Linked DNA regions of Homo sapiens: regions 1, 2, 3, 4, 5 and 6 are each linked to region 7. The links are contacts of gene promoters, found by promoter capture Hi-C in blood cells and fetal thymus (Javierre and others, 2016). All regions are on one chromosome and are shown on one strand. The core of a region is centred on a gene start or on the middle of the fragment in contact, and the rest is flanking DNA. Distances in the headings are between cores, read along the strand shown. Region 1 has its middle 22 kb from the start of SNN. Region 2 has its middle 30 kb from the start of LITAF. Region 3 overlaps TXNDC11 (thioredoxin domain containing 11). Region 4 overlaps TXNDC11 (thioredoxin domain containing 11). Region 5 holds the start of SNN (stannin). Region 6 overlaps TXNDC11 (thioredoxin domain containing 11). Region 7 holds the start of CLEC16A (C-type lectin domain containing 16A).

Evidence for each region. The method cuts DNA at HindIII sites, captures the fragments that hold promoters and counts their contacts. A CHiCAGO score of 5 or more calls a contact.
Region 1: a contact is called between a fragment that was not itself captured here and the fragment with the promoter of CLEC16A in region 7, in 1 of 17 cell types (fetal thymus). The highest score is 6.6, in fetal thymus.
Region 2: a contact is called between a fragment that was not itself captured here and the fragment with the promoter of CLEC16A in region 7, in 1 of 17 cell types (activated CD4 T cells). The highest score is 5.9, in activated CD4 T cells.
Region 3: a fragment that was not itself captured here is called in contact with the fragment with the promoter of CLEC16A in region 7 in 12 of 17 cell types (activated CD4 T cells, naive CD8 T cells, total CD8 T cells and 9 more); the score reaches 14.1 in activated CD4 T cells.
Region 4: a fragment that was not itself captured here is called in contact with the fragment with the promoter of CLEC16A in region 7 in 10 of 17 cell types (naive CD8 T cells, activated CD4 T cells, erythroblasts and 7 more); the score reaches 12.9 in naive CD8 T cells.
Region 5: the fragment with the promoter of SNN here is called in contact with the fragment with the promoter of CLEC16A in region 7 in 9 of 17 cell types (activated CD4 T cells, total CD8 T cells, naive B cells and 6 more); the score reaches 13.1 in activated CD4 T cells.
Region 6: a fragment that was not itself captured here is called in contact with the fragment with the promoter of CLEC16A in region 7 in 9 of 17 cell types (total CD8 T cells, naive B cells, naive CD4 T cells and 6 more); the score reaches 9.6 in total CD8 T cells.

Annotation. Positions count from the first base shown.
Region 1 is chr16:11,644,551-11,648,427 of GRCh38, reverse strand. No RefSeq gene overlaps it. Among named protein-coding and RNA genes, the nearest start is that of SNN, 22 kb to the left of the region's middle. The HindIII fragment of the contact is 8,808 bases long and covers 1-3,877 here.
Region 2 is chr16:11,615,380-11,619,311 of GRCh38, reverse strand. It overlaps a transcript of LITAF not described here. Among named protein-coding and RNA genes, the nearest start is that of LITAF, 30 kb to the right of the region's middle. RefSeq lists an enhancer at 3,766-3,932. The HindIII fragment of the contact is 7,613 bases long and covers 1-3,932 here.
Region 3 is chr16:11,728,124-11,731,520 of GRCh38, reverse strand. TXNDC11 (thioredoxin domain containing 11) reads left to right here. Exons shown (of 12, transcript NM_015914.7): 4 at 747-876. Among named protein-coding and RNA genes, the nearest start is that of TXNDC11, 13 kb to the left of the region's middle. RefSeq lists an enhancer at 2,933-2,992. The HindIII fragment of the contact is 3,200 bases long and covers 228-3,397 here.
Region 4 is chr16:11,702,626-11,706,262 of GRCh38, reverse strand. The region is part of intron 5 of TXNDC11 (thioredoxin domain containing 11); the gene reads left to right. Among named protein-coding and RNA genes, the nearest start is that of SNN, 36 kb to the right of the region's middle. The HindIII fragment of the contact is 4,582 bases long and covers 1-3,637 here.
Region 5 is chr16:11,666,573-11,670,464 of GRCh38, reverse strand. It overlaps SNN (stannin), which reads right to left and starts at 2,010. Exons shown (of 2, transcript NM_003498.6): 1 at 1,925-2,010. RefSeq lists an enhancer at 711-810 and a silencer at 1,918-2,337. The HindIII fragment of the contact is 10,329 bases long and covers 1-3,892 here.
Region 6 is chr16:11,683,816-11,687,698 of GRCh38, reverse strand. TXNDC11 (thioredoxin domain containing 11) reads left to right here. Exons shown (of 12, transcript NM_015914.7): 11 at 3,454-3,534. Among named protein-coding and RNA genes, the nearest start is that of SNN, 17 kb to the right of the region's middle. The HindIII fragment of the contact is 6,503 bases long and covers 1-3,883 here.
Region 7 is chr16:10,943,281-10,947,011 of GRCh38, reverse strand. CLEC16A (C-type lectin domain containing 16A) reads right to left here and starts at 2,448. Exons shown (of 24, transcript NM_015226.3): 1 at 2,215-2,448. The coding sequence starts at 2,294. RefSeq lists enhancers at 2,376-2,435, 2,656-2,835. The HindIII fragment of the contact is 6,288 bases long and covers 1-2,674 here.

The DNA.
Region 1 (3,877 bases), core at 719-3,218, 700 kb before region 7:
TTTAGTAGAGATGAGTTTTCACCAAATTGGCAAGGCTGGTCTCAGACTCCTAACCTCAGGTGATCCGCCTACCTCGGCCTCCCAGAGTGCTGGGATTACAGGTGTGAGCCACCAGGCCCGGCATATATCTCCTTTTTTCTAACATAGAAAATCTGGGTTTCTAACAACATTAACACAATTTCTTCCTTCCTTCCTTCCTTCCTTCCTTCATTCCTTCATTCCTGTCTTTCTTTCTCTCTTTTTGAGTCAAGGTCTGGTTGTATCACCCATGCTGGAGTGCAGTGGCATAATCTTGGCTCACTGCAACCTCTACCTCCTGGGCTCAAGCCATCCTTCCACCTCAGCCTCCTAAGTAGCTGGGACTACAGGCATGCACCACCAAGCCTGGCTAGTTTTTGTATTTTTTAATAGAGACAAGGTTTCGCCAGTTTGAGGAGGTCTCAAACTCGTGAGCTCAAACGATACACCCGCCTTGGCCTCCCAAAGTTCTGAGATTACAGGTGTGAGCCCCCGTGCTCGGCCAATTTCTTATTTTCTTTATCCTATATTACAAAGATAATCATTTCTTTTTAAAAATTTACAAAGAAAAGAGGTTTAAAAGTTCAAGATTGGGACCAGGCGTGGTGGCTCATGCCTGTAATCCTAGCACTCTGGGATGCCGAGGCAGGCGGATCTTTTGAGGTCAGGAGTTCGAAACCAGCCTGGCCAACATGGTGAAACCCCATCTCTACTAAAAATACAAAAAATTAGCTGAGTGTGGAGGCAGGCGCCTGTAATCCTAGCTACCTGGGAGGCTGAGGCAGGAGAATTGCTTGAACCCAGGAGGCAGAAGTTGCAGTGAGCCAAGATGGTGCCATCGCACTCCAGCCTGGGTGACAAAGCAAGACTCCATCTCGAAAAAAGAAAAAAAAAATAGTTGAAGATTGGGCAGCTGGATTTGGTGAGGGCCTTGGGCCGTGTCCACTCATGGTGGATAGCAAAGAGGGAGCAGGCATGTGCAGAGATCATGTGGTGAGAGAGGAAGCAAGAGATGGCAAAAACCTGACAGCTTCACTGTCAGAATGCTAATATAATCACTACCTATAAGATAACTGAGTACAGGTGAGGATTTCAATGTAGTTCTGTTTCATGGTGGTTCTTTTGTCCTTAGGGTAAAACCCACTAGAGATATATAATATCTGGTATAATACAATCAAAGTGCTATTTTTTTTTTTTTTTTTTGAGACAGAGTTTCGCTCTGTTATCCAGGCTGGAGTACAGTGGCACAATCTCGGCTCACTGCAACCTCTGCCTCCTGGGTTCAAGCAATTCTCCTGCGTCAGCCTCCTGGGTAGCTAGGATTACATATGTGTGCCACCACTCCCAGCTCATTTTTTATTATTAGTAGATAGAGACAGGGTTTCACCATGTTGGCCAGGCTGGTCTCGAACTCTTGGCCTCCCAAAGTGCTGGGATTATAGGCATGAACCACTGTGCCCTGCTCAAAATGCTTTTTTTTTTTTTTTTTTGAGATGGTGTCTCGCTCTGTTGCCCAGGCTGGAGTGCAGTGGCACAATCTCGGCTCACTGCAACCTCTGCCTCCTGGGTTCAAGCAATTCTCATGCATCAGCCTCCCGGGTAGCTAGGATTACAGTTGGCCAGGCTGGTCTCGAACTCCTGGCCTCCCAAAGTGCTGGGATTACAGGCATGAGCCACTGTGCCTGGCTCAAAATGCTATTTTTGTTTTTTGAGACAGAGTCTCGCTCTGTCACCCTGGCTGGAGTGCAGTGGCACGATCTTAGCTCACTGCAACCTCCACCTCCCGGGTTCAAGCAATTCTTCTGCCTCAGCCTCCCAAGTAGCTGGGATTACAGGCATGTGCCACCACACCTGGCTAATTTTTGTATTTTTAGTAGAGACGGGGTTTCACCATATTGACCAGGCTGGCCTTAAACACCTGATCTCATGATCTGCCCGCTTCGGCTTCCCAAAGTGCTGGGATTACAAGCATAAGCCACCGTGCCCAGCCTCAAAATGCTATTTTAAAGTCACTTTCTGTGAGCTCAATGGCAGAACACACGGACACATACAGGGGAACAACATACACTGGGGCCTTTTGGAGGGTGGAGGGTGGGAGGAGGGAGAGGATCAGGAAAAATAACTAATGTGTACTAGGCTTAATGCTTAGGTGATGAAATAATCTGTACAACAAACCCCCATGACACAGGTTGACCTATGTAATAAACCTGCACTTGTACCCCTGAACTTCAAATGAAAGTTAAAAAAAAAAAGAAGAGGCTGGGTGCAGTGGCTCACACCTGCAATCCCAGCACTTTGGGAGGCCAAGGTGGGCAGATCACCTTAGGTCAGGAGGTCAAGACCAGACTGGCTGACATGGTGAAACCCCATCCCTACTAAAATTACAAAAAAATTTGCCGGGCATGGCAATGCCTTCCCGTGATCCCAGGTATGTCGGGAGGCTGAGGCACGAGAATTGCTTGAACCCAGGAGGCAGAGATTGCAATGAGCTGAGATTGTGCCACTGCACTCCAGCCTGGGTGACAGAGTGAGACTCTGTCTGGAAAAAAAAAAAAAAGGAAAAAAGTCACTTCCAATAATCCTTCTTAGTGTGGTTATGCCAAATTGGCATATACTCAGGGTTTTTTACTTTTTTTTTTTATTTTAAGGGATCGGTCTTTTTGTCTTTGATTTTACTTTGTAATTTTGTAAAATATTTACATTTACCAAATAGAAACTCTGAAACAAGACACACTCAGAGAAGCTGAGCTTCCACCCCTCCATCACCAGTCTGCCTCCTCTTACCCTGTAAATACCCATGTTGGCTTTATCATTCCATCGTTTTTCTTTGAAAATGTGAACAAACATATACAAACCACAGGTGTATTGAGAAGGTAGGTAGCATGCTTTGCATTCATAGTTCTGATCCTTGGATACTGTTATTTATTTATTTATTTAAAATTTTTTTTGAGACAGAGTCTCACTCCATCACCCAGGCTAGAGTGCAGTGGTGCAACCTCGGCTCACTGCAACCTCTGCCTCCAGGGTTCAAGCAATTCTCCTGTCTCAGCCTCCTGTGTAGCTGGAATTACAGGCGCCCGCCACCATGCCCAGCTAATTTTTGTATTTTTAGTAGAGATGAGGTTTTGTCATGTTGGCCAGGCTGGTCTCGAACTCCTGACCTCATGTGATCCACCTGCCACGGCCTCCCAAAGTTCTGGGATTACAGATGTGAGTCACCACACCTGAACAGTTATTTATTTTTTTTTGCTTAACCATATATCCTGGAGACCACTGCATTGTAGGATAAGGAAACATTTTTTTTTTTTTTTTGAGATGGAGTCTCGCTCTGTTGCCCAGCCTGTAGTGCAATGGCGCGATCTTGGGTCACTGCAACCTCCATCTCCTGGGTTTAAGCGATTCTCCTGCCTCAGCCTCTTGAGCAGCTGGGATTACAGGCATCCACACCTGGCTAATTTTTGTATTTTTAGTAGAGACGGGGTTTTACCATGATGGCCAGGCTGGTCTGGAACTCCTGACCTCAGATGATCTGCCCGCCTCGGCCTCCCAAGATGTTAGGATTACAGGCGTGAGCCACTGTGCCCGGCCTTCTCATTTCTTTTTTCTCTTTCCTTTTTTTTTTTTTTTTTTTTTTTTTTTTGTGAGACGAGTCTCTCTCTATCTTCCAGGCCGGAGTGCAATGGCATGATCTCGGCTCACTGCAACCTCCGCCTCCCGTGTTCAAAGGATTCTCCTGCCTCAGCCTCCTGAGTAGCTGGGACTACAGGCGTGTGCCACCACGCCTGGCTAATTTTTTGTATTTTTAGTAGAGACAGAGTTTCACTGTGTTAGCCAGAATGGTCTGGATCTCCTGACCTCG
Region 2 (3,932 bases), core at 1,433-3,932, 670 kb before region 7:
TGAGACGAAGTCTTGCTTTGTCACCCAGTCTGGAGTACAGTGATGTGATCTCGGCTCACTGCAACCTCTTCCTCCCAGGTTCAAACGACTCTCCTCCCTCAGCATCCCAAGTAGCTGGGATTACAGGCAAGCGCCACCACACCAAGCTAAATTTTGTATTTTTAGTAGAGAAGGGGTTTTGCCATGTTGGCCAGGCTGGTCTCGAACTCCTGACCTCAAGTGACCTGCCTGCCTTGGCCTCCCAAAGTGCTGGGATTACAGGCGTAAGCCACCGTGCCCGGGCAGTGCTGGGGTTTTTTTTGTTTGTTTGTTTGTTTTGTTTTTTTTTTAAGACCGAGTCTAGCTCTGTTGCCCAGGCTGGAGTGCAGTGGCGTAATCTCGGCTCACTGCAACCTCCACCTCCCAGGTTCACGCGATTCTCCTGCCTCAGCCTCCTGAGTAGCTGGGATTACAGGCACCCACCACCACGCCCGGCTAACTTTCGTATTTTTAGTAGAGACAGGGTTTCACCATGTTAGCCAGGCTGAACTCGAACTCCTGACCTCGTGATCCGCCCGCCTCGGTCTCCTAAAGTGCTGGGATTACAGGTGTGAGCCCCCGCGGCCGGCCAGTGCGGGGGTTTTTAATTTGCAGCTCTATGAAGCGCCCCCTCCCCACCCCCAGAAATGCTCCACCCACTGGGAGGCGGGGACAATGGCCAGTGGCTCCATGGCCAGAGAGAAACTATCTTGCTATTAGCCCATCGCACACAGCGAAAGCCCGGGGAGCCCATCAAGCACGCTCTCCAGATTCTCTGACACCAGCTGCATGGCCAGCAATTCAATTCAGTTCCGACAGAAGCTGCCCACAGTTAGTGCAGACTGCACGGTCAAAGGACTCAGTCCCACAGGACTGCTCCCACTTCAGACACCAGTGCAAATGGCGTCCCCAGGCTACCCCTACTTCTGCCTGGCTGATTACAAATTCAGGGCTCTCCTCCCGCCTTGCCAGGGGAGGCACCTGCTAGACTAGTATTTCTGCCTGCAATCTAGACCAGCACAGTGGCAGAACGGAATGTCTCTTCCAAGGGGGAAAAGTTTGGGCATAAATGGAGAGAAGAAACAAAAATAGCTGGAGGTAAAAGACAGAATAAATAAATGGGTTATGGCCAGGTGCAGTGGCTCACGCCTGTAATCCCAGTAGCTGACTGGGGAGGATCACTTGAGCCCAGGAGTTTGAGACCAGCTTGGGCAACATAGTGAGACCCCATCTCTTCGAACAAAAAAATTTTTTTGGAAGCTGGTTGTGGTGGCATGCACCTGTAGTCCCAGCTGCTTGGGAGGCTGAGGTGGGAGGATCGTTTGATCTCAGGGGGTTGAGGCTGCAGTGAGCTATGTTCGAGCTGCTACATTCCAGCCTGTGTGACAGAGTGAGACCCTGTCTCAAATACATAAAATGAATAAATGAATGAATGAATAAATAAATAAATAGGTTACGGAGGGAAGGAAATTTAATATTACATTAACACCTTCAAAGAGGCTTAGATCAAGAGATGGCGTTGTCCCTTGGCTCAGTTATACCAGATGCCTGAAAGATTGAAACCATATAGGCCAGGCACGGTGACTCACCCCTGTAATCCCAGCATTTTGGGAGGCCGAGGCGGGCGGATGACAAGGTCAGGAGTTCGAGACCAGTCTGGCCAATATGGTGAAACCCCGTCTCTACTAAAAATACAAAAATTAGCTGGGCGTGGTGGTGTGAGCCTGTAGTCCCAGCTACTTGGGAGGCTGAGGCAAGAGAATCCCTTGAACCCGGGAGGCAGAAGTTGCAGTGAGTTGTGCCACTCCACTCCAGCCTGGGCAACAGAGCAAGGCTCCGACTCAAAAAAAAAAAAAAAAAAAAAAAAGAGTGAAGCCATATATTGATATATTGCTGGGACTGCCCCTGCTTTCAGAACTTGATAAGACAGAATGGAAGCCTGCAAGCCTGGGCAGCCTTACCCTGGGGGACATTTTCATACATTTCATGGGATGGCGGACTGTATCGTTATTAAGGACTGATGGATTTTAGCAATGTGCTGGCATCTTTTTTATTTCTATTTATTTATTTTTTTGAGTTGGAGTCTCGCTCTGTCACCCAGGTTGAAGTGTATTCGTGTGAGCTCGGCTCACTGCAACTACTGCCTCCCGGGTTCAAGCGATCCTCCTGCCTCAGCCTCTCAAGTAGCTGGGACCACAGGCTTGCACCACCACGCCTGGCAAATTTTTGTATTTTTAGTAGAGATGGGGTTTCACCATGTTGACCAGGCTGGTCTCGAACTCCTGACCTCAGGTGATCTGCCTGCCTCGGCCTCCCAAAGTGTTGGGATTACAGATGTGAGCCACTGCGCCCTGCTGGCATCTTTTTTTTTTTTTTTTTTTTGAGATAGAGTCTTGCTCTCTTTCCCAGGTTGGAGTTAAGTAGCTCAGTCACAGCTCACTGCAGCCTCAACCTCTTGGGCTCAGGTGATCCTCCTGCCTCAGCCTCCTGAGTAGTTGGGACCACACGTGTGCACCACTATGCCCGGTAAATTTTTAAGAATTTTTGTAGAGATGGGGTCTTCCTATGTTGCCCACTCCGGGCATCTTTTGATGTTTATGATCATCTGACTGTAAGGGATTTGTGTTCAAAGGCCAGAGGGTAGCCTGTGATATTGTGATACAATAGGAAATATGTATTTGGTCTTTGCCTCACGTACCTGACAGAGCTTCTAAGGTCCTCGTAATTTCCTGAGTGGCAAAGATGAGAGGTACATCTTTTGTTATTCATCATAAGCCCCTTTCTTTTTCTTTTTTTTTTTCTTGTTTTGTTTTGTTGAGACAGGGTCTCACCCTGTCACCCATGGCTGGAGTGCAGTGGCACAATCGTAGCTCACTGCAGCCTCAACCTCCTAGCCTCAAGCAATCCTCCCACCTCAGCCTTCTGAGTAGCTGGGAACACAGTCACGTGCTACCATGCCTGGCTAATTTAATAAAAAATTTTTTTAGAGATGGGGTCTTGCCATGTTGCCCAGGCTGGTCTCAAATCCCTGGCTTCAAGGGATCTGCCTGCTTCAGCCTCCCAAAACATTGGGATTCCAGGTGGGAGCCACGGTGTCCAGCACTATTCCAGTTTATTATAAAAGATACAAACAGCCAGATGCACAGGAGCATAGGGTGGGGTCTGGAAGGGCCCTGAATGTAGGGCCACTGTCCCCGTGGAGTTGGGGTGCCCCACCTCCCAGGTAGTGGATGTATTTGGCAACCTGAACGCTCCCAGAAACCTATCTAGTGGTTCTTATCAAGGTTTCGTGACGTAGGCATAATTGATTAAATCATGGCCATTGGTGATTGGACCCAACTCCTAGTCCCTCTCCCCTCCCCAGAGGTGAGGAGTGGGTGAACTGAACCTTCTAACCCTCTAAGCATTCCAAAGCTATCTAGGTACCCCCACACTGAGTCATCTTGAGTCATCCCATTAGCATACGAAAGATACTCTAATCACTGAGGAGGGTCCAAGGGCTTTGGCAGCTCTGTGCCAGGAACCAGTGACAGGGAACAAAGACCAAGCAGATACTTTTTATTATACCACATAGGTCTTCACTTTTCTTTTTTTATTATTTTATTTTAGTTATTTATTTATTTTTAAAGACATAGTCTCACTCTGTCTCCCAGGCTGGAGTGCAGTGGTGCAATCTCGGTTCACTGCAACCTCCACCTCCTGAGTAGCTGGGATTACAGGCATGCACCACCACACCTGGCTATTTATTTATTTATTGAGACGGAGTTTCACTCTTTTTGCCCCGGCTGCAGTGCAATGGTGTGATCTCGGCTCACCGCAACCTCCACCTCCCAGGTTCAAGCGATTCTCCTGCCTCAGCCTCCTGAGTAGGTGGGATTACAGGCATGCACCACCATGCCAGGCTAATTTTTGTA
Region 3 (3,397 bases), core at 578-3,077, 790 kb before region 7:
CATCCAATTATATTTGGGCAGTGTCTGTATTGTGTGAGACTGAAGAGAGGCACGTGAGAATTCTGATTAGCTTAGGAGGATAACTGAATAGTGGTGGTATCACTTAGCGGCACTGAATCCAATTCTATGTGTCCCCAGGCACAACTGGAGGGGAAAGGAAGAAAGATTATTTAAACAGGTCACTGACTTCAGACCTTCACATAATTTGTTATTGTTGTAATAAAGCTTCAAATAGGTTTAAGGTTCATTCAGTGATCCTTTGTCTGCCTGTTTCTTTTTAGTAGGCCAAGGGCTGACTGTTCAACCTGTCCCTTACCTCACAGTGACTAGTAGAAGGAAAGTCTGCCCGCCTGCGTTGAATTGTATAGTTAAATCCTGGAATCCCTTAGCATGTGGTCAATTTCCAGGGTTGTCTCTCTGTTTTGTTTTTAAAAGAACTACTGTGGGAATTAATTTTTTTTTCAGAGATAAGAGTAAATGTTCCTTGTTTGGCAATTCAGTTTGCAGTTGAATTCAAGATCATAGAAGGGTAGGGGCTGCTTGTGCCTCTCCTCACCCAAAATGCTTGTTCTTAATTCTCTGGTCACCTCCTGAGCAAAGCAGGCTACTGATCTGTGACTTGGTTGGATCCCAAAGCAAGACACTTTCATTTTGTGGTGGTGATGATTTTAGTTATACATTACAGGCTTAATGCATGGTGTATTATTTTTATTATTTTTATTTTTATTTTTATTTTTTGGTACTAGTTTTGGACCAATCGAATACAAAGGCCCCATGAGTGCTGTTTACATTGAGAAGTTTGTCCGCCGGGTGATGAAACCACTTCTCTACATCCCATCTCAATCAGAATTACTAGATTTTCTCTCAAACTACGAGGTACTTGTCTTTCATATCTCCTCCTCCATACTCAAGGCCTTTCACGGGGTTGTATTGGATTGTTTGTTTTAAAGGGGTTTAAAAAAATACCTCCTGAATTGCAGCAAGTAAAAGGTCATGTGATAGATCAGCCCCAGTTAAATGCTTTTTGAGATACTGATTATAAGGATGGTTTGTCCAAGAGAGTTTTAAGAGAATAGAGTACTAGCAAAGTCTTTGTTTTTCGTTAGGGAATTTTCAACAGATTTTCATCTTGCCTTACAGTTAACTTAGAGTAGATGAGAATTAACTTACAATTTATGTGCAACTGCAAATTTCTAAGAATATTACTTGACACTTCTCATAGCATTGTACTATGAGATACCTGGTTTCTCTTGTCAGTTGTAGTTTGGTTTTTTTGAAAACTGGAAATATGTTCCCTTCCATATTATGAAGTATATAACTATTTGAAGGTCTTAATTGCAGAAAGTTTTCTAACTTTCCTGATGTAGCTTCTTTCCTGCTTCCCCACTGCCAACTTCAACCCCTGGTAAATTATTTTTATGGTATTTTCTTTTTTGAGACAGAGTCTTGCTCTGACACCCAGGCTGGAGTGCAATCTCAGCTCACTGCAAACTCCACTTCCTGGGTTCAAGTGCTTCTTGTGCCTCAGCCACCCAAGTAGTTGCAATAACAGGCAGTGCCACCACGCCCAGCTAATTTTTGTATTTTTCACTAAAGAGGGTTTCACCATGTTGACCAGGCTGGTCTTGAACTCTGGGCCTCAAGTGATCTTCCCATGTTGGCCTCCCCTCACAGTGCTGGGATTGCAGGTGTGGGACGCCACGCCCAGCCCTGTAGGATCTTTAATGCATGTTAAGAATGGCTTATTGTGAGGCCAGTATTGGGATTATTGAAAGATGTAGCCTCAAAAAATTATAAAAGTAGTTCTGCAAAAAATTCACTGGAGCAAGTGTAAAATCATACTTGAGTACAAGTAAAATGATACTTAGGTACAACAAAATCAAGACCATAAATACCTGACAGAGATTAAAAAACCATGTATATCCAGACCTTCCTGACAGTTTAGAATTGTGGCTAGTTGAATTTTACTGTTCGCACTATTTATATTCTGTATAGATTGGATACACATTTTTTCACCAGAACATCAGTATAGCTTTATTCAGTCATGTTGGAAACTACATATGTGTTAACTATTAGCAGAGATTCCCCAAGCAGCAGTATATCTAGTTATTCTGCTTTTAGTTCTTAGCTATGCATCAGAGTAAATATTCCTTAATTACATAGATAGCAGATGGATGTCTGTGCACCTCAGAGGCCTGCCTCTCATTTTCCCTGGGCAGGCTGGTGGGTGAGGGCTATATTAAGAGGCAGGGTACTGGGGCCTGATCCCTTTGGCACACTCACTGGGTTTGTGATTTGGGGCGGGTTACTCACTTCCTGGGCATCAGGGGCCTGGGCCAGGGTATCCTTGAGATTCCTTCTAACAGTAAAGTTGTGGTAAGTGGGTTTTGACATGGTTCTTCAGTGGGTTACAGCCAGAGCCACTCGGGATGGCACAGCAAAATGGTGAAGAATCAGGAGTCAGACAGACCTGCTTTTAGCAGTACTCCATTGATTGATTGATTGATTGATTGATTGATTTAGAGATGGTCTCACTCTGTTACCCAGGCTGGAGTGCAGTGGCATGATCTTGGCTCGCTGCAATCTCCATCTCTCAGGTTCAAGTGATTCTTCTGCCTCAGCCTCCTAAGTAGCTGGGATTACAGGCATGCACCATCATACCTGGCTAATTTTTTGTATTTTCAGTAGAGATGGGGTTTCACCATGTTGGCCAGGCTGGATTATTTTATTTTTTTGAGATAGGGTTTCACTCTGTCACCCAGGCTGGAGTGTGGTGGCATGAACTCGGCTCAAGCGATCGTTCTGCCTCAGCCTCCCAAAGTGCTGGGATTACAGGTGTGAGCCATCATGCCCAGCCCAGCAGTACTTTAAAAGACTATCCTCCAAGTATTGGTGTGGAGTTCATGTTAGACTCACTAATCTACTGACGACATTACTGCTGATGACATTTAAAACATTACATTAAGTTTTTTGGCAGCCCACTTAGAGTGATGTACAACAGTGATTAAACTGGACTGCCTTTAAAATGGGAACCACAAGAGTGCTACCAAGATGGGGTCCCTAGATCACTTCTGTCAGCCTTTAAAATGACTTCCTCCCAAAAGCTGTGGCTTTTATCGGGTTAGTATCATCTTTTGCTGGGCTTGTCACTGAGATGAGATTGTCTCATTGGCAAGAGATAGATAGTACTTTATTAATTGTGAAACAACTCACTAGTCAAGCCCATCGTGACACTTGTGAAACCATTTGTCTTGCAAAATATACCAAATAGCACAGCCTAGAAAATGTATCAGTTTCACACACACTGCCTATAAGATAGAGACAGAATTCTAGATCCAGAAATGAAACCACTGTCATGGTTTTGATGGTTGAATAATTAGGAAAGTTAAGGAATTTT
Region 4 (3,637 bases), core at 494-2,993, 760 kb before region 7:
CTGTGGAAACTGGTTAGTAACTAATTCTTTACCCAGATGTTCCTTCAAGATTTCATTACATCTTGCAGTGATCATTGACACCAGTTGTCACTGTATGGTTAACAGAGATCTTGAACTGGCCAATTACCAGGCTAATGGAGAATTTTTTTTTTAATCGAATGGGATACTGCAGTTTTTAGACCTTTTTGAGTAGAGGAGGGGAGAGTATGAGTCTTAGTTTATTTTTAATTGTCCAACAAATTCCAAGTTCTTAATTAAAATATTGAAAATTCATTACTTTTAGGACAAAATAATTCATTTTATAAATGACTAAGACTTCTGTCGTAGAAAGCCCTGGAGCTCTGCTTATCAGAAAACACTCTGGATAAGGAGATGTGACATGCTGGTTTTTTGTGTCATCTTTACGCTATAAACTTCCTCTGCTAATCTAAGTATTCTTTGTTCACGTGAGACTGCAAATTTAAGCTGCTGCTTCTAGCAAGATTTCCACCATATGCTAGAACTTAAATAGAAGCGTGTTTTTTGTACATTTCTGTTATGTGTGAAAAATAAAGTTTTGAAATTATAATATGTTTGAGCATGTTAGAATTTGTTCTGTATGGGCAGACTGTCCATTCTTATTAAGGCAGTTAAACAGGTTTTTGAATGGCCCCTTTTAACTTTTGGGTCAGGCTGTCACTTCTTATTTCTCTGCTCTAATAAATCACGATGGTGACTTTGGCAGGCTATCAAATGAATTTCCTTACTGGCTGCTTTTCCTTCTCTTCTTTTAACTGTGACTGTCCTCCAAGATCAGCTGCTTCTGGAGAGTGGTGTTTTGGTCCTACTAAATCACGTCCTCTCTTTGGTCTGTTTCTTCTGACAGCTTTGGGATCTGGACTTATATGCCATGCCCTTTAAACAAAGTTTTTAAAAATCTTCAACTAATTCTATACTTAGAGAAAAGTTGCAAAAATAAAACAGAGAGTTCCATAATTGCCTGTCTTTAGCCAGTTTCCCCCATTGTTAACATCTTACATAACCAATTGTTAGGTGGTTTTGTACAAACTAAGAAGTCAATGTTAGAGTTGGGTGTGGTGGCTCACACCTGTAATCTCAGCACTTTGGGAGGCTGAGGCCAGGTGGATCACTTGAGGTTAGGAGTTCGAGATCATCCTGGCCAACATGGTGAAACCTTGTCTCTACTAAAAATACAGAAAAATTAGCTGGACATGGGGGTGCATGCCTATAATCCCAGCTACTCGGGAGGCTGAGGCAGGAGAATCACTTAAGGTTGCAGTGAGCCGAGATGCACCACTGTACTCCAGCCTGGGCGACAGAACAAGAATCTGTCTCAAAAAAAAAAAAGAAAGAAAAAGAAGTTAACATTGGTTCGGTCCTATTCACTAAACTGCAGACCTCATTTGAATTGTCTCCATGTTTCCACTAGTGTCTGTTTTTGTTTCAGGATCCAGTCTGGGATCCCATATCGCAATGTGTTGGTTTTTTTCTCAGTTTCCTTCAACCTATGACAAATCCTCTGTCTTTCCTTGTCCTTTATAACCTTGACACTTCTGAAGAATATTTCTCAGGTATTTTGTAGAAAATTGCTCAATTTTGTCTGTTTTCTTGTGACTGGAATAGGTCATGTCTTTTGACAGCAATACCATAGAAATAGGTACTTCTCAGCACTTCTTATCAGGGGGTTCATATGATGTCAGTGTGTCTCCTACTGGTGACATTAACTTTGATCAGTTGGTTAAAGTAGTGTCTGCTGTGTTTCTCCACTGAAAAGTTACTATCTCTTCCTTTGTAATTAATAAATAAATACCTTGGGGGAAGATCATTTGACACTATGTAAATATATCCTCAAACTTCTGCTCATGAATTTTAGCCTCCATCAGTGGATCTTGCCTGCAACAATTACTCTGGTGTTCAAATGGTTATTTTCTGTTTCTTTCATTCTTTTTTCATTATTAGTGGAATTCTCCCTTAAAGAAGAGCTGACTGTTCTCATTAATATTATTATGGAGTCATGGGTATTTATCTTATTCTGTGTACTGTCATTGTTTATTTTGTTGCTCAAATTGTTCCAACTTTGGCTACTAGGAGGGCTTCAGCTTGGCTCCTGGGTCCTTTGGACAAACCCCCATCCTTTTATGAGCACTTCTTTACTTCATTTATTTTTTTTGAGACGGAGTTTCACTCTTGTCACCCAGGCTGGAGTGCAATGGCAAAATCTCGGCTCACTGCAACCTGCACCTCCCGGGTTCAAGCAATTCTGCTGCCTCAGCCTCCCAGATAGCTGGAATTACAGGTGCGTGCCACCACATCCGGCTAATTCTTGTATTTTTAGTAGAGATGGGGTTTCACTATGTTGGCCAGGCTGGTCTCAAACTCATGACCTCAGGTGATCCACCCGCCTTGGCCTCCCAAAGTGCTGGGATTACAGGCGTGAGCCACCATGCCCAGCCCACTTCTTTACTTCTGATACAAGATATTTCAGGCTTATCTTGTACTTTCTTCACCCCAGCTCTGGAATCAACCTCTTCTCCAAGGGCCCTGGTTTCTTTTACTGGAGAATGGCATTTAGAAACCAAGATCTACGTGCTAGGTATGCTCTTTGGTATTAGGATGTCATTACTTCTAGGTCTTCTCAGTAGATAGAACTAGGAAGTGTATTATACCCACACATGTGCATATATCTGTATTTCTCTATCCATCCCCTCTCTCTCCCTCTGTGTGTGTGTGTGTGTGTGTGTGTGTGTGTGTGTATCAAAAGCCTTAAGTTTATACTCATTCTCTCTGATTTCAATTTAACATCACAGGGTTTATTTTAGCCTTCTCTTATTAATATATAACTTCTTACTGCAACAGTGAGAGTCCTGGCTGTAATTATGTATAATGTACTTACCACAAAGAAGTAAATAAGTTCATAGTTTCAGAATTGCTAACTTATACCTCTTTAAGAAACACATTTACTACCTAGATTTACAGCATTTATGTACAGTTCTTTTTGCCTTTAGTTTTACAGCATCCAGTCAAGATACTGTTTTCCAGTTACTTAGGTTCTTTCTTCCTGTCCCATTCACCATGGTGTTACCCGTTTGCAATAGTTAGGGTTATTTGTACGTGCTGTATTCCACGTTGGGTTTGCCACATCTCGCTTGGTTTTAACTAATTGTTTAATTTTGGAGTGTGTGAAGGGTGTGTGATACATCACTGTGGCCCTAGGAGTCAGATACAAAAAGGCCTACTCAGTGCCAGGCCTCCTCAGCCCTGCCTTCCCGTTTCCAGTCCCCTTTCCCCAGCCTGGCTTATTTGTCCTGTATTTCTTTTGTTTTGTGCCATTTTACACTCATCAGATTTGTATGAAAAATTATTGACTCTGGCAGTAGGGACATACTCACTCCGACCTCATCCTTGTCGGCCACTCCTTACCTGAGGGAGAGAGGACCACACCACTGAAAGATGGGGTCATGGGATAAAACTGGAAACTTTATGGGTTTAACACCTCAATATTTTTATATCTTAGCTACTTGTGTATAATTTGGTAATATTTGATGTTTAACTGTTTTTTAAAAAAAAATTTATTTATTTACTTTGGAGGCAGAGTCTCACTCTGTTGCCCAGGCTAGAGTGCAGTGGCACGATCTTG
Region 5 (3,892 bases), core at 761-3,260, 720 kb before region 7:
CCCCCAGGGCCAGAAGGGCACAGAGCCTGGCCCAGGCCCAGTGCCACAAACACCCCTTCCCCAGGGACACGCTGCCTCCTCCTAACTCAACCGGGCACATCATGAGCATTGCCGGGCTCACCACCAGCAAAACACCCCCGCCTTGCAGCCGCCACCTCCTGAGGCTCCTTGACAGACGCCAGGAGGGCTGCCCTGCTTACAGGGGACCAGCCATCCCTACGGGGCTTTCAGTACTGCCTCCCCCCATAAAGCCACCTGCCAAGGGTGCCAACAAACTCTTCAGCGAACCCCGGGTCACAAACCAGAAACGTTTCCTGCCCCAGGTTCTGACTGGGAAAACAGGGTTGTAGGGAGAAGAGGGCACTGCTGGACACAGCCAGGACGAGGCGGGACGTCCGTTCTGCCCTGGGCCTCCAGCAGCCAGTGGGACACAAGGACGCATCACACAAGGCCCCAGCCCTCCAGAAGCCAGGACCAAGAACGGCCGGATGCCAGTGGGACTGACACTGATGGGGCTGTGCCCAGCTCTCTGGCCAGTGTTATCTCATCCTCCACCCCCACCCATGACACCCCCATCCTCAGAAGAGGAAACTCGCTCCAGAATCCCCTAGGTTCCCCAGTGGCAAAAGAGGAAGCGGGAGCCCGCAGAGCTCTGAACCGGGACTGCCCCAAGGTCAGTCGGGGTCTTCCTCGGGCCAGGCCAGAGGCTCATGCCCCCACCCTGTGAATCACCCGCTGGTCATTTTCACAGGCTGCCCCAGGGTTGGCCTGTTTGGCCAAACAACTTTGCTTGTAGATGCCGGAGAAAGTTGGTGGCAATTATATGTGCCAGACACTGAGATAAACAGCTCACGCAGATGTCTCCTTTCTGCCTCAAGACAACAGGGCAGTTGAGCTATTACTGTTCCCTCTTGGCAGATACAGAAATTGGTGGCTCAGAGAAGTTAAGTCCATTGCCCAAGGTCACACAGCTCAAAAGTAGACGCGCAGGGATTCAAACCCAGGCAACCTGCATCCAAAATCCCGCATTTCGACCCTGACTCTAAAATGCCACATTCTCCCTACCTCCTCTCCCGCGTGCCTGAGGGGCCGCGGACAGGTGAACCCCAGTGTGGCCCTCGCTGGGGCGGGCTGGGCGACCTGGGCTGGGTGCTGGGGACTTAGGGGTGACAGCGCCCCGGCGGCTCCCGAGTGCTGAGCGCGGGCGGCGTGGCAGGCGCGGTGCCAGGCGCGCTCCGCGCACCCTCCCGTTCCACCCTGCCCGGCGGCGCCGGCGTCTCCCCCACTCCACGGAGGAGCAAAGCGAGGCTCCAGGGAGGAGGGGGCTCGGCCCAGGGGGCGACAGCTGGAGAGGGGACGGCAGCTGGGGAGGTAGCTCGAATCGGCCCGACGGAGGCGGGGTGTGGGACGGGGACCAGGGGAGCTAGGCATGCCCACGCCGCGCAGCCGCTGCCCACGGAACCGGGCGCCGAACGCTGCGGCCCGGCCTCAGTTTCCCTACCCGCGAGACGGGCGCCGGACGTCACCTGGACCCCTATCCCCGGAGCCCTCCCCGGAGCTCCCAGAATTTTGAAGAACCCCGAAATGCCGGGGGAAGGCGGGAGCGTAGCTGAGGACGGGCGGGGGCTGCACGGGCGGGGGCGAGCGCCCCGCGATCCCCACAAAGCGGCCTCCGCCCCCCGCCGCCTCCTTTGTCCGGATCTCGCCGCAGCGCCGCTGACAAAGAACCCCAGCCCGCGGGCGCGGCCCCTGGAACGGACCCTCCCCCGAGCCGCGCCCGCCGGGCCGCCCCTCCCCCGCCCGCAGACCCCGGCCCGGCCCCGCCGCCGCGCGCGCCCCTCCTCGTCCTGGCCTCCCCCTTCCCGCCCCCGGGCCCCGGCGCCCCCGCCCGGCCCGAGCGCGCGGCCTGCCCCGCCCGGCTCACCATGGCGCGGCAGCGGCCCGGCCCGATCGCCCCGCAGCAGCCCCGCGGGCCCGGCTCCGCCCGCCCGGTCCGGCCGCCGCGCACTCGGGACGCAGGAGCCCCGCGCTGCGGCGGGCGGGGCCCGGCTCCTCCCCGGCTGGGGACGGGGCCTCCCAGAAAGGCCAATGGGAGCCCGCGCTGGGACGGCGGGGCGGGGCGGGCCGGGGCGGAGTCACGTGTGCTCGGGGCCGGCAGGCGGTGGGGCGGGGGCTGCGCGCGGCGGGCGGGCTCGGCCCTGGCGAGCGCGGATTGGGCGCCCGTGGGTACGGGGCCCCACTACAGGCGCCCTTCCTCTGCCAGCCTCATCCTGACCCCGGCAGGCTGCCTTGGTCCCGCCTGCTTACAGCGGAGGAAACTGAGGCACGCTGCACGGAAGAGTGCTGCATACTCCTCGAGAGCTGAGAGCGGCGGGGAATCCGGGGCAGGGGCAGGGGAGAGGCGCGACCGCTGAGGTGAATGACCTTGCTTCGGGAGGAAGCTGGGCATCAGTCGTTCGCGAATTCATTTATGTATCATTCATCCGCCCAGTCAGTCGATGGCGGAACACTGACCACGTGCCTGCCACGCCAGTCGTCGTGGGAGCAGCCACGAGCCAGACAAGGTCCCGGCCCTGACGAAGCTCTCATTCCTCTGCGGGATGAGGCTGTGAGGCATTTGCACCCCTCTGCCACCTATAATCATAGTTATTTTTAGCATAATTACCCGGTGGTTTGGCCCCCACCAAATGCCTGCCCTGTATAAACAGCCCAACACATTTTATTAAGATGACTCCGGAAGAAAGAATCTTCCCATTTTACAGATGAGGAACCTGAGGCTCCAAAGAGCTGAAGTCCCACAGCCTGCTCCTGATGGAGAGAGGGTTTTGAGGCCAGGCCTGTCTACCTGGGAAGACAGAGGCTCCAGTTATTGGAGTAATCTCCACTCATCCACCCCAAGAAGGCCATCGGCGAGAGGACACCCCAGCCCTGGGGCCCACAGAAGGGGTGAGGGTGGGTCCCTCAAGGCTTCTGTGGCCCAGGGGACTTGAGAAGACAGGAGGGGGCAGGGCGAGCTGGGACCTCCTCCTGGGAACGGGGGCCTTATTTGCTGGAAACTTCTTTCCCATTCTCAAGCAGAAGCCTCTGGAAGAGCATGGCGGGTTGGGCTCACGAGGCTGAGGTGGCCAGGCCCTCACTCCCTCCACTCAGCCTCGCTGGGCTTTCTTCCCTGCGCCCAGTGCACCAAGCCTTTCCCACCGCCAGGCCTTTGCCTATGTGGCTCCCTGCAGCTGGAACTCTTCTACTTCATCTTCCCGATCTCAGCTTAAGTGCCCCTTCCTCAGGAGGGCCCTCCCTGATCGCCCAGCCAAGAGTAGCTCCCTTGGGGTTTTTTGTTTTGTTTTTGAGACGGGGTCTTGGTCTGTCACTCAGGCTGGAGTACAGTGGTGCAATCACAGCTCACTACAGCCTCCATCCAACTCCTTCCTGGGCTCAAGCCATCGTCCCACTCAGCCTATATCTATGAATGTGGGCAGATTTGACGAAGCAATTTTTTTTCTTTTTTTTAGAGAGAAGGTCTTGCTCTGTCGCCCAGGCTGGAGTACAGTGGTGCAATCATAGGTCACTGTAACCTGGGCTCAAGCGATCCTCCTACCTCAGCCTCCCAGGTAGCTGAGACTACAGGTGCATGCCACCATGCCCGGCTAATTTTTTAATTTTTTGTAGAGATAGGGTCTCTTGTTGTTGCCTGAGCTGGTCTCAAACTCCTGGGTGATCCTCCTGCCCCGGCCTCCCAAAGTGCTGGGATTATAGGCTTGAGCCACCATGCCCAGCCTACCCATTGTGAAATTGTACATTTTTGACATTGTGTGATGAACTTTTGGTCTTCTCTCCCAGGACTAGGTGTATTGCACTCACTGCTGTGTCTACAGAACAGTGCCTGCCACACAGT
Region 6 (3,883 bases), core at 891-3,390, 740 kb before region 7:
CTTTGAAACTGAACTTTTCCTCATGAATTCTGAGTGTTCCTTCCATGATGTTGATGTTTAGCCCTGACTAGATTCGTAGGTGGCTGAGTGCAGTTCTGTGGGGAGAGCACTGACCTGGTTGCCAGGATGGCCCCGTGGAATACCATGGGACAGTTGCCCCAGGCAATGCCAGTGGGTCCTGGGATCCCAAGCAGATCTCTCCACCAGCCCTGGTTTATCTCATTTGTGAAATTAAAAGGAAAGACCAATAGATATCCACATTCTGGTATTGTGATTCCATGGGTACTGTATGTGCGCTTTTGAGTAAACAAAATTTTTAAAAATATTTTTTGGGAAAAGAAGGCTCAAATACAGAGTCTTTAGATGGGGTAGTAAGCAGTTTTGGGTGAGGAAAACTGTTCACATTTAACCCCCCACCTCCCCCAAAACCCTACAGATAGATAAGAGTTAAATATAAAAAAATCAAAACAAAAAATAGGATTTGCTGATTCCTCTGGGAGATGGAAACTTTCCAAAGTGGAAGCAGTTGGAAAAATAAAGAGAGAAAAATGGACAGATTCCACTAGAAATACGTGCAGTGAAAACAGGGAAAGCAGACAAAAAGGGGGACCATTAATATATTTTCCAGTGTCTCTGTGTCACCTGTTATATGCACTGTAAGTAATAATTAGAATCAAATCTGAGGAGTTACTATGTTGGGAGAGTTTTTGATATACATATTACCTGACTGAGTCCTTGCGACGCTTAGTGAAGGCACTCTAGTTAAAAAAAGAAAGTGCTATTTGTGTTGAGGAGGAAACTGAGACATAGAAAGATTCGACAAGTTGCCCAGAGTTTCAAGCTGCAAATGAGGGGCCAGGATTAAATCAGGCATTCATACTCCAGCCTCCCCGGAAATTAAAATGGTTTAGAAGATGGCTGAGACCGATTCCATTCTGAACAAAGGATGTGAGCAGGTTTTTCTTTTAAGAGGAGAGAGTAAATAAACAAGTGGGGAAATTATAACCTAATAAATGTAAATTAAAACAGTAACAAAGTATCATTTAACATATTAAAGTAATCAGTGGTTTTAAGTGACAGAATCTTGTGTTGATAAAATAAAATGGAAACTGCAGTCAGATGTATCTAATGGAATGAGTACATTGCCATAACTCTTTTGGAAAGCATTTTGGCAACATTTACAAGAAATCAACAAAAACAGTTAACACATTTTTGACCCAGTTAATTTTACTTTGGAGAAGTAATGGAATAGGAATTCCGAAGAAGCATGAGCTCATCATTATAGCATTGTTTACATCCACCAGGAGATGAATGTTTAAGTAAATTATGGCTGGGCATTTAATGGAATTTTTATCCTTCAACAGTGCTTTTCATACAGTTAATGGAAAAGAACAGAGTATGAAATATATGACAACTCTTCTTAAAAATATGTAAGGATATAGGCGAGGTGCAGTGGCTCATGCCTGTAATCCCAGCATGTTGGGAGGCCGAGGTGGGCGGATCACCTGAGGCCAGGAGTTCGAGACCAGCCTGGCCAACATAGTGAAAACCTGTCTCTACTAAAAATAAAAAATTAGCCAAGTGTGGCGGCACGTGCCTGTAGTCCCAACTACTCAGGAGGCTGAGGCAGGAGAATCACTTGAATCCAGCAGCCGGAGGTTACAGGGAGCTGAGATTGCACCACTGCATTCCAGCCTGGGCGACAGAGCAAGACTGTGTCTCAGAAAAAAAAAAGTAAGCATATAGACCAAGCCTGCAGCCTGCATAAGAAAGGGGGGCCTTATTTAGCCCAATGGAATTCTGAGTGGATTTTTACAATGTTTTAATTTTATAGTTTGCTTTCTTTGAAGTAAGAATCAAGTGAGAAAAAGCATTTAATTATGGAATATAGTGTTCACTCCCACTTGTTTAGAAAGGAACACTAATGTTTTAGGTAGGCTGGCACAGGTGAGGCAGGAGTGCTGTTTTGTTAGTAAACTTTTGGTAAATGGTTTTCATTTGGTTATGCCTTTTGTTGCTGTTGTTGTTTTTTGTTTTTGTTTTTTTTTTTGAGATGGAGTCTTGCTCTGTTGCCCAGGCTGGAGTGCAGAGGTGCAATCTCAGCTCACTATAAGCTCCGCCTCCCGGGTTCACGCCATTCTCCTGCCTCAGCCTCCCGAGTAGCTGGGACTACAGGCGCCCGCCATTATGCCCAGCTAATTTTTTGTATTTTTAGTAGAGACGGGTGGCGTTTCACCGCGTTAGCCAGGATGGTCTCGATCACCTGACCTCGTGATCTGCCTGCCTCGGCCTCCTAAAGTGCTGGGATTACAGACGTGAGCCACCACGCCCGGCGTTGTTGTTTTTTTGAGACAGGGTCTCACTCTGTTGCCCAGGCTGGAATGCAGTGGTGCAATCACAGCTCACTGCAGCCCCAACCTCCCAGGTTCAGGTGATTCTCCCACCTTCCCAAGTAGCTGGGACTACAGGCATGTGCCAGAATACCCGGCCAATTTTTTGTAGAGACAGGGTTTCCCCATGTTGCCCAGGCTAGTCTCGAACTCCTGGGCTCAAACAGTCCACCCACCTCGGCCTCCCAAAGTGTTGGATTTACAGGCGTGAGCCCCTGTGCTCAGCCTGGTTGTGCCATTTTTTGAAAAGCAAATTTCATCCTTTTGGACACATACATGACACTTACCGCACCCTCACTCCCCCCAGTTATGCTTTCTAAAAACTTCTGTCAAGGTAAAGATTGAAAACATGTTCATCTTTTGTGTGCACTGTTTATGAATAGTAGCTGAATAGCCCCTCCGCAAGGAGGATGCAGCCCCTTCCATAAAGGATGCTGTTGTGGCTCCATGTCTGCTTAGCCCGAGTGTGGGCGCCCAGCTGTGTGCCCAGCTCTGTGCCAGCTGCCCGGGGCAGGCCTCTAGAGCAGTTGCGGTTAGCTCCCACAGTGATTGAGCACAGGCTGGGTGAGTTAGTACAGATGTCATTTTCTGTATTAGAAAATTAATGTCAAATCTGCTAAGAAAATAGGCTGTTTTTGGTCTCTATCCAGATTTACAACATAAAGAGGGTATAATTTTCCATCTTCAGAGGGGCTTGATGTATTTTGCTCAATGATTTCCTTTCTTTTCCCAGAGCTATTCAGGGATTAAAATACTTGGCTAGATCCTGTCAGGTGAGGAGTGAATGACTCCTCAGGTGTCAGTGCGGCATTTTCTGCAAGTTCATTTTTACTTTCAGGACATCACATTGCCACTCAGTGGAAAGCGTCCACGTAGTAGAATGTTGTATGTCTTGGAAGTATCAGCGCCCAGCTCACACCTGGTAGTACATTCATCGAGAAGGGACTAGCCCAATGTGGGGTGTAAAAAATGCACCAGGTTCTTGAAGTTATCTGAGAAGGTTCTTTCAAGTTGGTGTTTCTTGGGCTGATCATCTGCCATTTCTGTTCTTTCCCTTTACCAGGATTGACGTGTCTCAGAATGACCTTCCTTGGGAATTTATGGTCGATCGTCTTCCTACTGTCTTGTTTTTTCCCTGCAACAGGTAATGCCAAATTTTTGTCACTGGTGGGCAGTTGGGATTCTTTTGTGGAGGTCTGAAAATGAAATGGGTTTAAGATGTAAATCATTCATTATGTTCAAAAAATGTTCCCTTAGGAACCAGGCGTGGTGGCTCATGCCTGTAATCCCAGCACTTTGGGAGGCTGAGGCAGGCAGATTGCTTGAGCTCAAGAGGTTGAGACCAGCCTGGCCGACATGGTGAAACCCCATCAGTACAAAAAATACAAAAATTAGCCAGGCATGGTGACATATGCTTGTAATCCCAGCTACTCTGAGGCTGAGGCACGAGAATCTCTTGAACCTGGGATGCGGAGGTTGCAGTGAGCCAAGAT
Region 7 (3,731 bases), core at 1,199-3,698:
ATGCCCCATTGGCGATGAGACTCAGCCAAGTCAAAAGTGTTCTCAAACAGACTTATTGGGAAGTTTTATTCAGAAAGACAGTATAATGAGCACAAGCTCGGGAGTCAAATCCTGCCTCTGGTACCCTTCAGCTGCTGACACCTGGGGGCAAGTCACTGAAGCCCCCTGAACCTTAGTTTCCACTTCCGTAAAATGGAAACAATAATGGTTCCTGTAACTCAGACTTGTGAGGACTAAGGGAATTAACACACAGGCAGTCCTTAGCAAATACCTGGTACAGAATAATGCATTCGATAAATTAATAAATTAAGGTAATTTAAAAGGGCTAGAGTTAAGCAGAGTTAGGTGAGAACCTGGAGGTACCTGGATGCCGGCAGGAGGCCCAACCTCCTCTGGATAACTCCCCTCCCCTCCTCAGCCACCTCCGCCCACTCGATAAATTCCTGAAATCCTTCAACCACTCCCTTTCCCGGCCAGCTGCCCTCCCATCTAAGATCCCCACCTCCCTACCCACCCCAGACTTGTCCTGGGCCTCTTTCCTCCCCTTGTCTTCTCTCACCACCTCCTGCTCTAAAAGTGCCCCTCACCACATAGTGAACCCTCCTGCTCCCCACTCTTCAAGACTCACAAACGTTTACTAAATGCTGCTCCATGCTAGAAAGGTCACAGCTGAGAACTGTGGCCCTGCCACTACCCCTACCCCACTCCCGGGGACACATGAGAAGTCCCTATCTAATTCCCTCCCACCAATCCTTTCCACAGCCCCGTCTCCCTTCCACTACTTCCCACCATATCCCTAACCCTATCTTCCTCCTTTCCCATTAGTAGTCTCAGGATCTCCTTCTGGAAACCTGCCTATTTCTTGACACTGAAGATTTGTCTACTCCCCTCTTCAGCATCCCCGCCATTTCCCTCCCTAAAGCCTTTCCCTTCATACAGATCTCTATTTTTCATCATCCTCCACACCTGCCCCCAAATCCTGGGTCCTGGCCTGCATGCTCTTCATCTCTCCCCAATTCAATCATTCATTTTTCCACTCTTTAAGTAAGCAGAGAGCAGTCCTAGATGCTGGGAATACAACTGTGAACAAACCAAGCAGTCTGTGCCCTCGTGAAGTGCCAGTTTAACAGAAGACAGAAAATAAGTATAAATAAAAAATAAAGAATAATCGCAGAGAGTGGAGAAGCACTCAATGAAAGCAAGAGAAAGATGTGATGGATAGGAACTGGGATGGGGGGAGCACGTTAGGTAGGGTGGTCTGGGAAGGCCTCGCTGAGCTGATAATAAACACAGCTACCACTACTGGCCACCTACTATGTACCTACTGGGTCAGTCACCTTCCATTTCCATTACAATGTTCACGATCCCCATTTGCAAATGGGAATCTGGAGGCTCAGAGAGGTGAAGTAATTTGCCCAAGGTCACACAGCCAGTAAATGGTGGTTTCAGGATTTGAACGCAGGTGTGGCTGCAAAGCCAGCCTCTTAATTTCTGCACTCCTGGTCCCAAGACCCTATCTGCCACCTGTCCTCCCCCAGAGCTGTAGAGTCATTCCCTCCTCAGAGGTCTCTATTTTTCATCATCCTCCCCAATCGCCCCAAAATCCTGGGTCTCAGCGTGCATGCCCCCAGCTTAGACTCCCCTCGGAAAATAATCTGTTCTTTTATAATAATTAATGCCGTTTAATGAGCAATTGTACGTGTTCTGAGCTTAACGTTCATTCTCTTATCCAACCAACTCTCAACACAATAGCAGGAAGCAGGTGCTGTCACTCTACTCTTTTTACAAGTGGGGAACCTGAGGCCTACATTCACACAGATAGATTCGGACCCAGATCTGCCCGACTCCAGGACCCAGGCCTTTGACCCTCTAAGCTGTTCAGTTTAAGAAGTACCCCGCCAGGAAACTTGGTGGACACCGTCAAGAACAAAGTCTGTGTCCATAAACTGAAATCGCATCCTCTCGCTTTACAGGTGGGGATACGGAGACTCTGAGAAATTAAGCGACTTGTCCAAGGTCACACAGCCAAGAGCGACGGGGTCAGGGTTCGAACCCAGGCGCCCTGACTCCCGAGCCCTCGCTCTTAACCACCACACGGGCTTCCCCGGGCGCCCTTCGCCGCCGCTCTCACGCCTCCTAGAGCCCCGACCCGGAGCTCGGCGCCCCGTCCCCCTGTCCAGCCCCGAGGCCTCCCGCTACGCCCCCCACACTCACTTGAGGTGGTCCAAGGAGTGGATGTTGCGGGAAGTCTTGCCATGGCCCCCGCCCACCCAGCTCCGCGAGCGGCCAAACATGTCGGCGGCCCCGACCCGTCTCTCGTCTCACGGTCTCATGCCGGACCAGCAGAGCGGCCCAGCGCCCGCGGCGGTAGCACAAGCGGAGGATGCGGCGGCGGAGGCGGTGGAGGAACCGCGAGCCGCCTTCCTCCCCGGCCCACAGCCCAGCACTGACATTCAGCCGGAACCGGCCGTTCGACCGCCGCGCTTTACGGCCGCCGCCGCGTGGGGCGCTGGGAAATGCAGTTCACCCGCGTGGCCTTCGGCGGCAGGACTCCGCGAACGGACTACAAGGCCCGGCATGCATCGTGCAACCGCGGGCCTACGGCCATCCACAAAAGGCGGGGCGAGAGGAGGAGCGACCGCAGAATCCTCCGGGTGGGCGGGAATTGGAAGCTTTGGGCGCAGTCCCGGAGAGGGAATCGGCGTAGATGGGTCAAGGAAAGTCACCACTGTAGTAACAATTACTAGATTTATAATAAGAATAAGAATAGTATTGGATGGTGTATACTATGCAAAGCCACTATCCTAAGGGCTTTACATATTAAGGTATTTAATTTTCACAACCATCCTATGAATTGGGTACTATTATCGAACCTATTTTATCATCAGGGAAACGGAGTCACTGAGAGGTTGACTTACCCAAGATCATGCAGTTAACAAGTGGCAAAACCAGGGTTCATAACCACGCACGCACCCTTATTTTTCATTCCCTTTATAAACCAAAACGGCACTAGATAACAACCTTATTTGTCCTGACAGCCTTTTTCTTTTTCCACTTCAATTAAGTGTGTGTGTGTGTGTGTGTGTGTGTGTGTGTGTGTGTGTGTGTGTGTGTGTGTGTTGGAAAAGGCTGGATGCAACAATGCACCAAACTGAACATTTTGTACTTCCAGAGGATTCCTCTGGTCTTCAGCCAGAATCCATGCTATTTCCCAAAGTACCACGTTAAAATGAAAAAGGAAACACCCAACTTTCTGCATGAGCCAGAATATATCTAACTTCTACCCTGGATTAGAAGTGGTAAGTTCAGTGTGGGCAAGACTTCTCAAGTTTACCATCCATTCATTCATTCAGTCACTTCTACATATCAACCTTATTAAAGGTCCACTGTGTCCCATTAACTCTGCTCAAGAAAGAACTGGGCCAGAGGCCAATGTTCTCCCCAGTGCCTAGCACAAGGTTTGGCACATAGCAGGTGTTTAACAAATATTGGTAGAGTGCATGAATGAGTAAAGGTTTGTTTCACCTTCAGCAGTTGGAGAAATGGATAAGAGTGGAGAGTTAATGGTTTGTCCTGTAATTCATATAGAGTGGGGCAAGACAAAGTCATGGAGCAAAAAAGAACAGGATCTGGCCTCCAAAGAAACACACCCAGGCTCAGAAATGTAGGATCCCTGGGCTCGTATTTTTCATCTGTAAAAAGTACGCACATACATACTACACTGCCTTGTA